4 separate regions of the Homo sapiens genome follow, and regions 2, 3 and 4 are each linked to region 1. Evidence: promoter capture Hi-C in human tissues and cell types (Jung and others, 2019). All regions are on one chromosome and are shown on one strand. Each heading gives the region's core, a stretch centred on a gene start or on the middle of the fragment in contact. The rest is flanking DNA. Distances are from core to core; before and after follow the strand shown. Region 1 holds the start of CHERP (calcium homeostasis endoplasmic reticulum protein). Region 2 has its middle 3.6 kb from the start of LINC01855. Region 3 overlaps TPM4 (tropomyosin 4). Region 4 overlaps RAB8A (RAB8A, member RAS oncogene family).

Region 1 (2,542 bases), core at 30-2,529:
ATTGGCGTTCGATCAAACAGCGGACAACCACCTCTCAATGTCCATCTACCTGGCAAACTCCTAGTTATTCATTTAAACAATCTAGAGACGGGGTTGGGTACTGAACGTGACAGATGTGATACCTGCCCTGAGCAGCCGCACCACCTGGTGACTATCCATTATTCAAAGGCCAGCTCTGCTTCCTAACTTTAAACTTCTTTAGAGCAGGACTGGAATCCTGTTGCCTAAATGAACGAACATTGATAAACACTTGCCAATAACTAAAACTCAGAGGGATAATTCTTTTTGATTTCTGCTGCAGGCATCTGAAATGCACAAAACCTTGCTGGACCCACAGGGAGACGGCAAAGGGGGCTGGACAGTGCCTGTCCCATGGACTCCCATCCGGCCTCTATCACTTCCTCCCTAGAAAACACTAAAACAATCACGCTACTCCTGCTAATCTCCGTCATCAGTCTGCAAAACAACAGCAAAATCCCTGATCCAGAGCCCAGGGGGGAGGATCGAAAACCTCGTTGTTCTCCATTACAGTGGCACCCAGCAGCCGCTCTGTGCAGGGCCGTGGGAACAGCGGAACAGGGATCGTGTGGACCGAGCTGCTCCACTTCAAAGAATAAACGACCCGAAAGAAAGAGGTTTGTGGCAGAGCCCGGACTGGAATCCGAGAAAGGAAGCGCTCGATGGGACGGCCTGAGTGCCGGAGGGGACTCACGCTGCTGCTGCTCCAGCGCCAGCTTGCACTTGTAGTAACTGTAGAATTCGCCTCCGAAAAGAAACGAGAATTTGGGGTTGTCCTTCTGCTTCTCCATAGTCATCTTCTCAAACTCGGGCCCATTGCGAGCCACGAACTGGGCGAGCTTGTCGATGACATTTCGAAGCTCCTGGTCTGGAGGACGGAGAAAAGGCCACGCGGGGCGTCAGCGAGGACCGCCCAAAGCCGGGGGACTCGGCGCCCCAGCCCCCGTCCGCCTTGCCGGGGACCCCAAGGGGGTGGGCCCCGAAGAGGCCGCCCTTGTACGGGTCCCGATAGGGGCCACACGCTCGCCGGGAATGCGGGGACCCACGGGAGAGGCCGCAGGCGAAGCCGCGAGGCCGAGCCCCGCCCCCTCCCAGACCCGGGGACTCCGGGAGGCGGGGCCGGCCAATAGGAGGTTCCGGGGAGAGAGAAACGGTCTCTCGGCCGGTTTGGGTCTCACCATCGGGGGGCAGCGGCATCTCCATGGCTCCGGCCGCGGGGAACGTCCTCCGGCGCCACACGATCGACCACCAGCGCCGTCTGCGGAAGCCGGCCGGAAGTGGCGCGAGGGAGCCGTTTACGGCGGGCTTCTAGGGCCGCTTCCGCCCGCCACTTACGGCCGTCGCTGGGAAACTCCGGAAGTGAGAGCGGGAGGCAGGCGGGAAGAAGCCGCGCGATGCCTGGCGCGCGGGAGGGGCTAGCGACGCGCACGCGCAGAAGTTTCCTGACACTTTCGCAGAGTGGGTCCCCGTCGCGCGGCGCCGCGGAAAGGCTGGAACGGCGCGGGTGGGTGTTAGTCGAGACCGGGGGGCGCGGGGCGTGCCCCTTGGTCGGCGTCGCAGCCCGATGGGCTGGCTGGTTGCTACCTCCGGGCGACCAGGGGCCTGGGGACTTCGTGCCTGGGCCAGGGTCTCTTTCCTTTCGCGGGCACAGTGAGGAGACTGCGAGGTGAGGTGCGTCCGGGTGGATCCCGGGCTGCGGCGACTGTCACATTCTCCCCGGCCAGACCGGAGGTGGAGCAGAACTGGGGGCGACGAGCTTGACTGGGATTGCAGCTGGACGTATTTAGGTTCAAAACATCCTCCTCCTGGCTTTCTTCCGCTCCACTCTTTGGTCAGGAAGACTGGGGCGGGGTACCCCCCAACCCATGCCCTCAAATTGCTGGCCTAGAGGGCACAGCGCCTTTCTAAAAGCTGCAGTTGGGTTGCCTCTAAAATAATGAAGCTAACCCTTGCTAATTGTGGGGAAAAGATAGCCAGAAGCAGCAAATTTCTGCTGTGGACGTCCGATATAAACTGATCCTCTTGAGATGGTTAATGCTTAGTTGGCTATACCTGCCCCCCGCCCCCGCCGCTTTTTTTTCCTTTATCCGTTTTTTTTTTTCTTTTTTCTTGAGACAAGGTCTTGCTCTGTGGCCCACGCTGGAGTGCAGTGTCATGATCATAGCTCACTAGCCCTGAACTCCTGTGCTCAAGTAATCCTCCCGCCTCGGCCTCCCAAAGTGCTAGGATTATAGGCATGAGCTACTTTACCCAGCCTGTTTTTTTCTGTGCAAATAAATGCACATGTATTTTAGATTAGTTTCATTTTTATTGTTAACAGCATTTTTCCACCAGATGCTTATGGATTGACAACTCTACATCAAGTGTTGCTGTAGGCTAGGAATCAACAAAACTTTTTGTATAAAAGGGACAGAAAGCAAATATTTTAGACTCTGCAGGTCAGGAGGCAAGATCAAGGATTTTTTTTTTTCTAAATGTCCTCTAGTTCATATTTTCTCATGAAGATCGAGGATCTTAATTGTTT
Region 2 (2,542 bases), core at 18-2,517, 480 kb before region 1:
TAGGGGAGGCTGCTCAGGTTATAGTTTGTGGGTCAATGTGTAGAATCCGGAGTCAGCCACTCTTGGTTCAACTCCCAACACCACCACTTCTTAGCTGTGCTGGCTTGAGCAAGTTACTTCACCTCTCTGTGCCTCAATTTCTCCTTTTATAAAATGGAAATGACAGCAGCACTTATCTCACGAGGTTATTGTGAAAATTAAGTGAGCTGATGTGTGCAAGGCACGTAGAACAGCATGGACACATTAAAGACATGTCAGTGTTAACTATAATTATTATTAATTATCGTGACGATGCCACCAAGCTTGTGGTCATGCCTGTTTTACGGGATTAATGGCCAAGCTCTCTAACCCACACAGTTCCCTCGGAGTGTGGCTCAGAGACTTTGGGGAGGACTTAGAGCCCTTTTCTCCTTGCCCGCCCCACCAATGGTTTGCCCCTTCCCGGATAATTTTTTTTTTTTTTAAACAGGATCTTGCTCTGTAGCCCAGGCAGGAGTGCAGTGGTGCAATCTCAGCTCATTGCAACCTCTACCTCCCGGGTTCAAGCAATACTTGTCAGCTTCCCAAGTACCTGGGATTACAGGTGTGCATCACCTATGCCCGGCTAATTTTTTTGTATTTTTAGTAGGGACGGGATGTCACCATGTTGGCCAGGCTGGTCTCGAACTTCTAGCCTCAAGGGATCCAACCCCTTGGCCTCTCAAAGTACCAGGATTACAGGTGTGAGCCACTACACCTGGTCTAGAAACTCTTTTTTTATTAAGAGATAGAGTCTCACTCTGTTGCCCAGGCTGGAGTGCAGTGGTACCAGCATGGCTCACTGCAGACTCAAACTCCTGGGCTCAAGTGATCCTCCTGCCTCAGCCTCTGGAGTAGCTGGGACTACAGATGCATGCCACCACACCCAGCTAATTTTTAAATTTTTTGTAGAGATGGGGTATCGCTCTGTTGCTCAGGATGATCTTGAACTCCTGGGCTCAAGCAATTCTCCCACCTTTGCCTCCCAAAGTGCTGCGACTACAGGCGTGAGCCACTGCACCCAGCTTCAGGGTCATTTTTATTGTCATCCTTGTCATCTTATTACTCTATTGTACCCCATGAAATGAAACTCCATAGAGTGCAAGCTGAGAACATTTTTGCTCTTTTCTATTGGAACTCAGTAAACTCACCTGTTGCCTTGGTCTCTTTGCATGTCTCAAACTGCAGGAGACACATTTGGGGGCAGTCCCCATCCTCTCTTCTGTTGTTTGATCTCTGCAGCCTCACCACCCACCACACCACACCACACCACATCCTCACCTCTGCATTCAACGGCAGACACTCTCACCTGCCCTCAGTCCCTTCCTCCTATGACCTTCGCATAGACCCCATCACCACCGTTCAGGCCTCCCTCAATTGCCACTTCCTCAGGGAGGCTTTTTCCTGACTTCCACCCAAGACTAATCAGGTGCCTGCATTTTGCATGCATTAACATTTTTAGGCTGGGCGTGGTGACTCATGCCTGTAATCCCAGCACTCTGGGAGGCCGAGGTGGGCAGACCACCTGAGGTCAGGAGTTCGAGACCAGCCTGGCCAACATGGTGAAACCCTGTCTTTGCAAAAATACAAAAAGTAGCCAGGTGTGGTGGTGCATGCCTGTAATCCCAGCTACTTGGGAGGCTGAGGCACGAGAATTGCTTGAACCTGGGAGGCGGAGGTTGCAGTGAGCCGAGATCGTGCCACTGCACTCCAGCCTGGGAGTGCAGGACAGAGCAAGACTATCTCAAAAAAAAAAAAAAATTTAGCTCACACTCTGGGTGCCTGCCCAGATCCACTGGGTTCCTACTGTTTCTCTCCACACCAAGGGGTACTTCTAGCAGCTTCATCTCTCTGCTAGGGGGAGAGGCGGTCTTCCTCCAGCTGCTGAAGTGAGTGTGACCCATACAAGGGCAGATCAGCACAATCAACAGCCCCTAAGAGCAGCCTTCAATCAACAGCAGCATGGAATTGGTGGATAAATACCCCAGCTCCTTCGCCCCTCAGCTGGGACAACTCCAAAGAGCATGCTCTCTGCTGCCTCCAGAGGCCCTCAGTGGGACTGCACCCTATTTGTCCATGGCAGTAACTGGTTTCATAATGCATGCTTAATGGTTACTTTCTTTTCCCTATTTCACTTCCCATCCTCTACTTGTATCTCCTTGGGTCACTTCCCAAATAAACTATTTGTCCTTGCATTTTTTAAGAGATGGGGTATCTGATGCCCAGGCTGAAGTGCAGTGGTGCAATAATAGCTCACGGCAGGCCAGGCACAGGGGCTCATGCCTGTAATCCCAATAGTTTGGGAGGCCAAGGCAGGAAGATCACTTGAACCCAGGAGTTCAAGACCAGCCTGGGCAACATAGCAAGACGCCACCTCTACAAAAACAAAAAAGTATCCAGGCATAGTGGCACATGCCCGTAGTCCTAGCTACTCAGCGGGCTGAGGTGGGAGGATCAATTGAAGCTGGGGGATCTAGGCTGTAGTGAGCCACGATTGTGCCACTGCACTCCAGCCTGGGCAACA
Region 3 (2,542 bases), core at 22-2,521, 450 kb before region 1:
ACCACTTGGCTAGGAAACTATCTCCCACGATGCCAGAAAGTGCTGCGGACGCTTGTCTAACGTAATGGGAAAACCGAATGATCAGCTCACTTGTGTCGTTAGCTGGGAGTTTTGGCACAGTTGGGCAAAAATGGAGGATTGTGGTCCCAAGCCATGGAGTTTCAGACCATGCAAGCTCAGGCCCTCCTTTGCCTCCCTCGATGGCTCGGCTCTTCCCTCCCGCCTCTTGTCTGCCTCGCTCCTCAGGCTTGAGGAAGAGAATCAGGATTTCCTCCAGGCCCCAGGATGGCTCTTTCAGTTGAAGCGCCAGCAAAAGGCCAGGCGCGGTGGCTCGTACCTGTAACCCCAGCACTTCGACCGAGGCGGGAGGATCACCTGAGGCCAGGAGTTTGAGACCAGCCTGGGCAACATAGTGAGACCCCATTTCTAAAAATAATAATAATAATAATTAGCTGGGTGTGGTGGCATGCACCTGTAGTCCCAGCTACTTGGGAGGCTGAGGCAGGAGGATCGCTTGAACCTGGGAAGTCAAGGCTGCAGTGAGCTCTGACCACGCCACTGCACTCCAGCCTTGGAGACAGAGCAAGACCCTCTGTCAAAAACATAAAAGGGCTGGGCATGGTGGCTCACGCCGGTAATCCCAGCACTTTGGGAGGCCAAGGCAGGCAGATCACCTGAGGTCAGGAGTTCATGACCAGCCTGGCCAACGTGGTGAAACCCTGTCTCTACAAAAAATACAAAAATTAGCCGGGCATGGTCGTGCATGCCTGTAAGCCCAGCTATTTGGAAGGCTGAGACAGGAGATTCACTTGAACCCAGGAGGCAGAGGTTGCAGTGAGTCAAGGTTGAGCCACTGCATTTCAGCCTGGGTGATGGAGCGAGACTCTGTCTCAAAAGAATAAAAAAATAAAAAAGAGGCCAGGTGTGGTGGCTCATGCCTATAATCCCAGCACTCTGGGAGGCCGAGGTAGGTGGATCAGGAGGTCAGGAATTCGAGACCAGCCTGGCCACTACGGTGAAACCCCATCTCGACTGAAAATACAAAAATTAGCTGGGCGTGGTGGCACGCGCCTGTAGTCCCAGCTACTTGGAAGGCTGAGGCAGGAGAATCGCTTGAACCCAGGAGGTGGAGGTTGCAGTGAGCCGAGACTGTGCCACTGCACTCCAGCCTGGGCAACAGAGGGAGACTCCGTCCCCCTGCAAAAAAAAGAAACACCAGAAAAACCCATGTTGCAGCTGGTCTAGGGGTCTGGGTGGGGCATCATTGGGGGCTGTCTGCAGTGGATGGGAGAGGACACGGCTGGTGGGGATCGGGCTCAGCTGGGCCTTTCTGTCTCTGCAGGTAGCTCGTAAGCTGGTCATCCTGGAGGGTGAGCTGGAGAGGGCAGAGGAGCGTGCGGAGGTGTCTGAACTGTGAGTGGCAGAACAGGACTGAGCGAGGCTGGCTCGATTCCTGGGGCGGAGTGGGAAGGAGCTGGCTGTGTTGGGAATTGGCTCTGACCGGGGTCTCTGCTCAAGTGGACGGGCGTCAGGGGCTCATGGCTCATCTTTTCTCTTGGCTTCTGTGACAAAGAGGTGGTGACTTGTTCTTACTGCCATGGGAAGCACTGCCCACGTGTTGACCCTTTCTGCAAAGATATGAGGAAATAGGAGTGAGACAGGAGGCAGCAGGGAAGCCCAGAAGTCCCATTTTCCCAGAGAGGATATCTCAGGGGGCTGTGCCATCTTAACAGAACACTGACCTGCTCCAGAAGGCAGGCTCCCCCGGTCAGTATGTAAATGCTTTTGCTCCTGTCAGTGTTTGGCCGTGACACATTCCTGGCGGGAAGGTGAGAAGCTTAACCAGAATCCCACAAGCAAGCACCGAAAAACAAAACACCTGTCCTCTTGGCCCCGGGTGAGGAATTCAGCCCCACAGAGCATCCGGGAGTGCTGAGAGAGATCTGGTTTCACAAATCCACTCCGGGCTTCCTTCCCGGAGTGTCCCCTGCAAACTCCCATTGCTCTCTGCCCGCCTTCTGCCCTCAGTCCCATTCTTACACCTTCCGGAGTCGGCCTCATCAATCATAGATTTCACAAGTCCTTGCAGCCTTACCCTTGGCAAAAGACCAGGAGTGTTTTCCAAGCCCTCCAAATACTCTTCGGGCGCACCTCGCCTCTGCCTGGTATGATAAGCCTTTGATAAGCCCATAGTATCACACTGCAGAAAAATCCATTAACATTTTCTCCCCACATTCCTTCTGCCCCCCACCGGGGGAGCTGTGTAGGTTTCTCCTTTGGAAAATTTATTGTTGGGGCGATTGCTATTATTGCCGGCTGTAAGGGAAGATAAGACACAAAAATCCTTTGTCTTTGTGCAGAAAATGTGGTGACCTGGAAGAAGAACTCAAGAATGTTACTAACAATCTGAAATCTCTGGAGGCTGCATCTGAAAAGGTAGGTGGTTGGCTTGAGCTGGAGGGTGGCTTGCTGGACTTTGTTCTTTTCTTCTCCCGAGGGATGCAGGAGCCTGTCAGGTTATGGGGAATCTGCCCTTTATTTA
Region 4 (2,542 bases), core at 31-2,530, 420 kb before region 1:
GTGTCCTTATTCTGCAAACTTGGATGGCCCCAGACAACTTGGCCAGCAGCAGAAGTCATCAGTGCCCTCAGGTGCCACAGATGCAGGGCTGGGCCTGGGGAGCAGGTAGCGAGGAGGAAGGAAGAAATCCAGGCCTGGCCATGAGCAGGCCACGTGCCTTGGAGCCCAGGATGCCCGGCAACAAAGGGGGACTTGTGATGGCACTGCAGGCTGGCCCGCTGTGGGCACTCCACAAGGACATCGAGAACCACACAGACCGTCAGAGGGTGGCCCCCACATGTGGGTTCTGGGGCTGAAAAAGGCCCAGGGATATTGCTGAGAGGATAGGTGTCATCAGTGCTTTTGGAGTTAGCCCCCCCCCGCCCCCCGTGCTTGAATCTTAAAGGTCACGTCTCTGTGCCTCAGTTTCCCCTTGCATCGCATGGGCATGTTTGCGCTTGTCCACAGCAGTAGCGAGGCTGTGGACCCAGGCTGAGGCGGGGCTGCCCCGAAGCTCTTCCAGGACCCACGAGCCGTCTCCCAGTTGCTCACGTCTAGGTTAGGGAACTGGAAGGGCCTTGGCACTCTCGGCTCCATCTTCACACAGCCGGTTCCCTCTGTGGTGGGGTCACTGGAAGTTGTGTGGATGTCGGGTCAGGACTTCCTGGGCTCAGTTGTGCCTGGTAGGTGGCTCAGGCAGAGCGTGGGGTGAGCAAGGGGTGAAGAGGAGGCCGATTGCAGGGGAGGGTCAGCGTGAGGGGAGTGCTGCTGGCAGTGGGCCTGTGGACCGGCTCCCACCGTCAGGCTGCACCACCCCGTGGGCCATGAGGGGAGCCAGCCGGGCTTGTCAGCGAGTGCGTGGCAGGGGCTGGCCTGTGAGGCAGAAGGGTCACCTCAGCGGCCCGGGGGGCAGGACAAGGCTGGTGCCAGAACCCAGCAGAAAGAAGGGCCACAGGGATGGAGAGGAGGGGGCTGGCTTCCGGGGCTCCACAGAGGTGGGGAGGGCGGCAGCTAATGGGCCTGGCTGTGCAGTGGGTGCTGGGCTCCCCACCACTGTTCTCTGGTGCCGCTGAGGCCTCCCTTCCAGAGCCTGCAGCCGATCAGGCACCTGTGTCTTCTCTCCCCGCGCAGGGCATCATGCTGGTCTACGACATCACCAACGAGAAGTCCTTCGACAACATCCGGAACTGGATTCGCAACATTGAGGAGGTGAGGCCCTCCGGCTCCTCCCACTGTCCCTGCTTCAGTCCTTGTCCCAGAGCCCTCTGGTTTACTCATGAGAAGGCCAAGGTGCAGAGACACATACAGGCCACTTGCCCACAGCCTCCTAGTCAGGGACATGGTGGGAGCAGGGACTGAGATGCAAGCAGCCGGCCCCAGGGACCACACACTGGCCTGGCCCCACCCCGGAGCCCCTCGGAGCCCATCCCTCCAGCTAGGCTGTTGGATCTGGCCAGTGTCATGGTTATAAGAGAAAGGATATCCAAGCTTGTGGTCACCATGAGTGTTGGGTGCTTTCTAGAGAAGGAAGGGTCTAGCACAGGTGTGACCCTTGTAGTTGGAGGGTGTGGTGAGCAGGCGTCAGTTGTACTTTGAGCTATATCGGAGCAGGGTGTGACCTGGTACAAACGACCTGTGTTCAGACCTTGAACCATAGAGCAGTGAGAAGTAGGCCAACCCCTCCTCCCCTCCCAAAGCCAGCATCTTCATCTTCTGCTCCCCAAAGAGCTGACCTCACCCCCAAAGCCTTCCTGGCTGCCGGCACCTGCAGCTTTCTATAACTAACCATGTGGGGCTTCAGGTCTGAGGCACAGCCAGAGAACTTTTCCCATCTATAAAACCACAGCAAAAGGGCATATCACTGTCCACCCAGGACTCATGGACCTCCCAGGCCAGGCCGAGAGGCCACCCCATCATTTGTGAGTCATTGCACTGGGCTCACCTCCCCAGTGACCCTGAGAGGGCTGTGCTGCCAAATTTGCCAGTGCAGGGCTGCACCCCAGCTGGGAAAGCTGTCTTCATCCGTGGAGAGGAGGAGAGCCTGGTCTTTGTGAAAGGTCTCTGTTTCTGGCCAGCGGGCAGGAGCCACCTTCTGGTTCATGGGAAGTGAGGCAGGGAGTGGCGCAGTAGGTTCCAGAGACCAAGTCTGAGCTGGTGGAAGAAGACAGCAGTTTCCAGTGTCCCCGTCCTCCAGGAAGCGTGGTCCGCTCCATGGGGACCCAGGGAGACTTGACGAAGGAGCTGCCTTTGGGTATGAGGGCAGAGTTTGGGCAACATCAGACAGGGTGGTGAAGTGCCTGCAGCTGGTGACGGCCTCGAGTTGCGACCACCTCAGGCACGGCCTGTTTCTGGAGCCCAAAAATAGTTGAAATGTCAGGGCCAGGCGAGGTGGCTTATGCCTGTAATCCCAGCAGTTTGGGAGGCTGAGGCGGGCAGATCACCTGAGGTCAGAAGTTTGAGACCAGCCTAGCCAACATGGCGAAACTCTGTCTCTACTAAAAATACAAAAAATTAGCCTGGTATGGTGGCAGATGCCTGTAATCTCAGCTATTCGGGAGGTTGA

What was found. Contacts are between HindIII fragments. The study calls those that stand out against the background at their distance.
Region 2: a contact is called between a fragment that was not itself captured here and the fragment with the promoter of CHERP in region 1, in 1 of the 25 tissues and cell types used here (pancreas).
Region 3: a contact is called between a fragment that was not itself captured here and the fragment with the promoter of CHERP in region 1, in 1 of the 25 tissues and cell types used here (dorsolateral prefrontal cortex).
Region 4: a fragment that was not itself captured here is called in contact with the fragment with the promoter of CHERP in region 1 in 1 of the 25 tissues and cell types used here (spleen).

The regions. Positions count from the first base shown.
Region 1 is chr19:16,541,158-16,543,699 of GRCh38, forward strand. CHERP (calcium homeostasis endoplasmic reticulum protein) reads right to left here and starts at 1,280. Exons shown (of 17, transcript NM_006387.6): 1 at 1,197-1,280; 2 at 713-886. The coding sequence starts at 1,221. RefSeq lists silencers at 912-981, 992-1,181. The HindIII fragment of the contact is 9,580 bases long and covers 1-2,542 here.
Region 2 is chr19:16,060,845-16,063,386 of GRCh38, forward strand. No RefSeq gene overlaps it. Among named protein-coding and RNA genes, the nearest start is that of LINC01855, 3.6 kb to the right of the region's middle. The HindIII fragment of the contact is 9,039 bases long and covers 1-2,542 here.
Region 3 is chr19:16,086,685-16,089,226 of GRCh38, forward strand. TPM4 (tropomyosin 4) reads left to right here. Exons shown (of 8, transcript NM_003290.3): 4 at 1,343-1,413; 5 at 2,361-2,436. Among named protein-coding and RNA genes, the nearest start is that of TPM4, 11 kb to the left of the region's middle. The HindIII fragment of the contact is 7,259 bases long and covers 1-2,542 here.
Region 4 is chr19:16,124,360-16,126,901 of GRCh38, forward strand. It overlaps RAB8A (RAB8A, member RAS oncogene family), which reads left to right. Exons shown (of 8, transcript NM_005370.5): 4 at 1,111-1,188. It overlaps HSH2D-AS1 (HSH2D and RAB8A antisense RNA 1), which reads right to left. Exons shown (of 2, transcript NR_199156.1): 2 at 1-2,542. Among named protein-coding and RNA genes, the nearest start is that of RAB8A, 14 kb to the left of the region's middle. The HindIII fragment of the contact is 7,709 bases long and covers 1-2,542 here.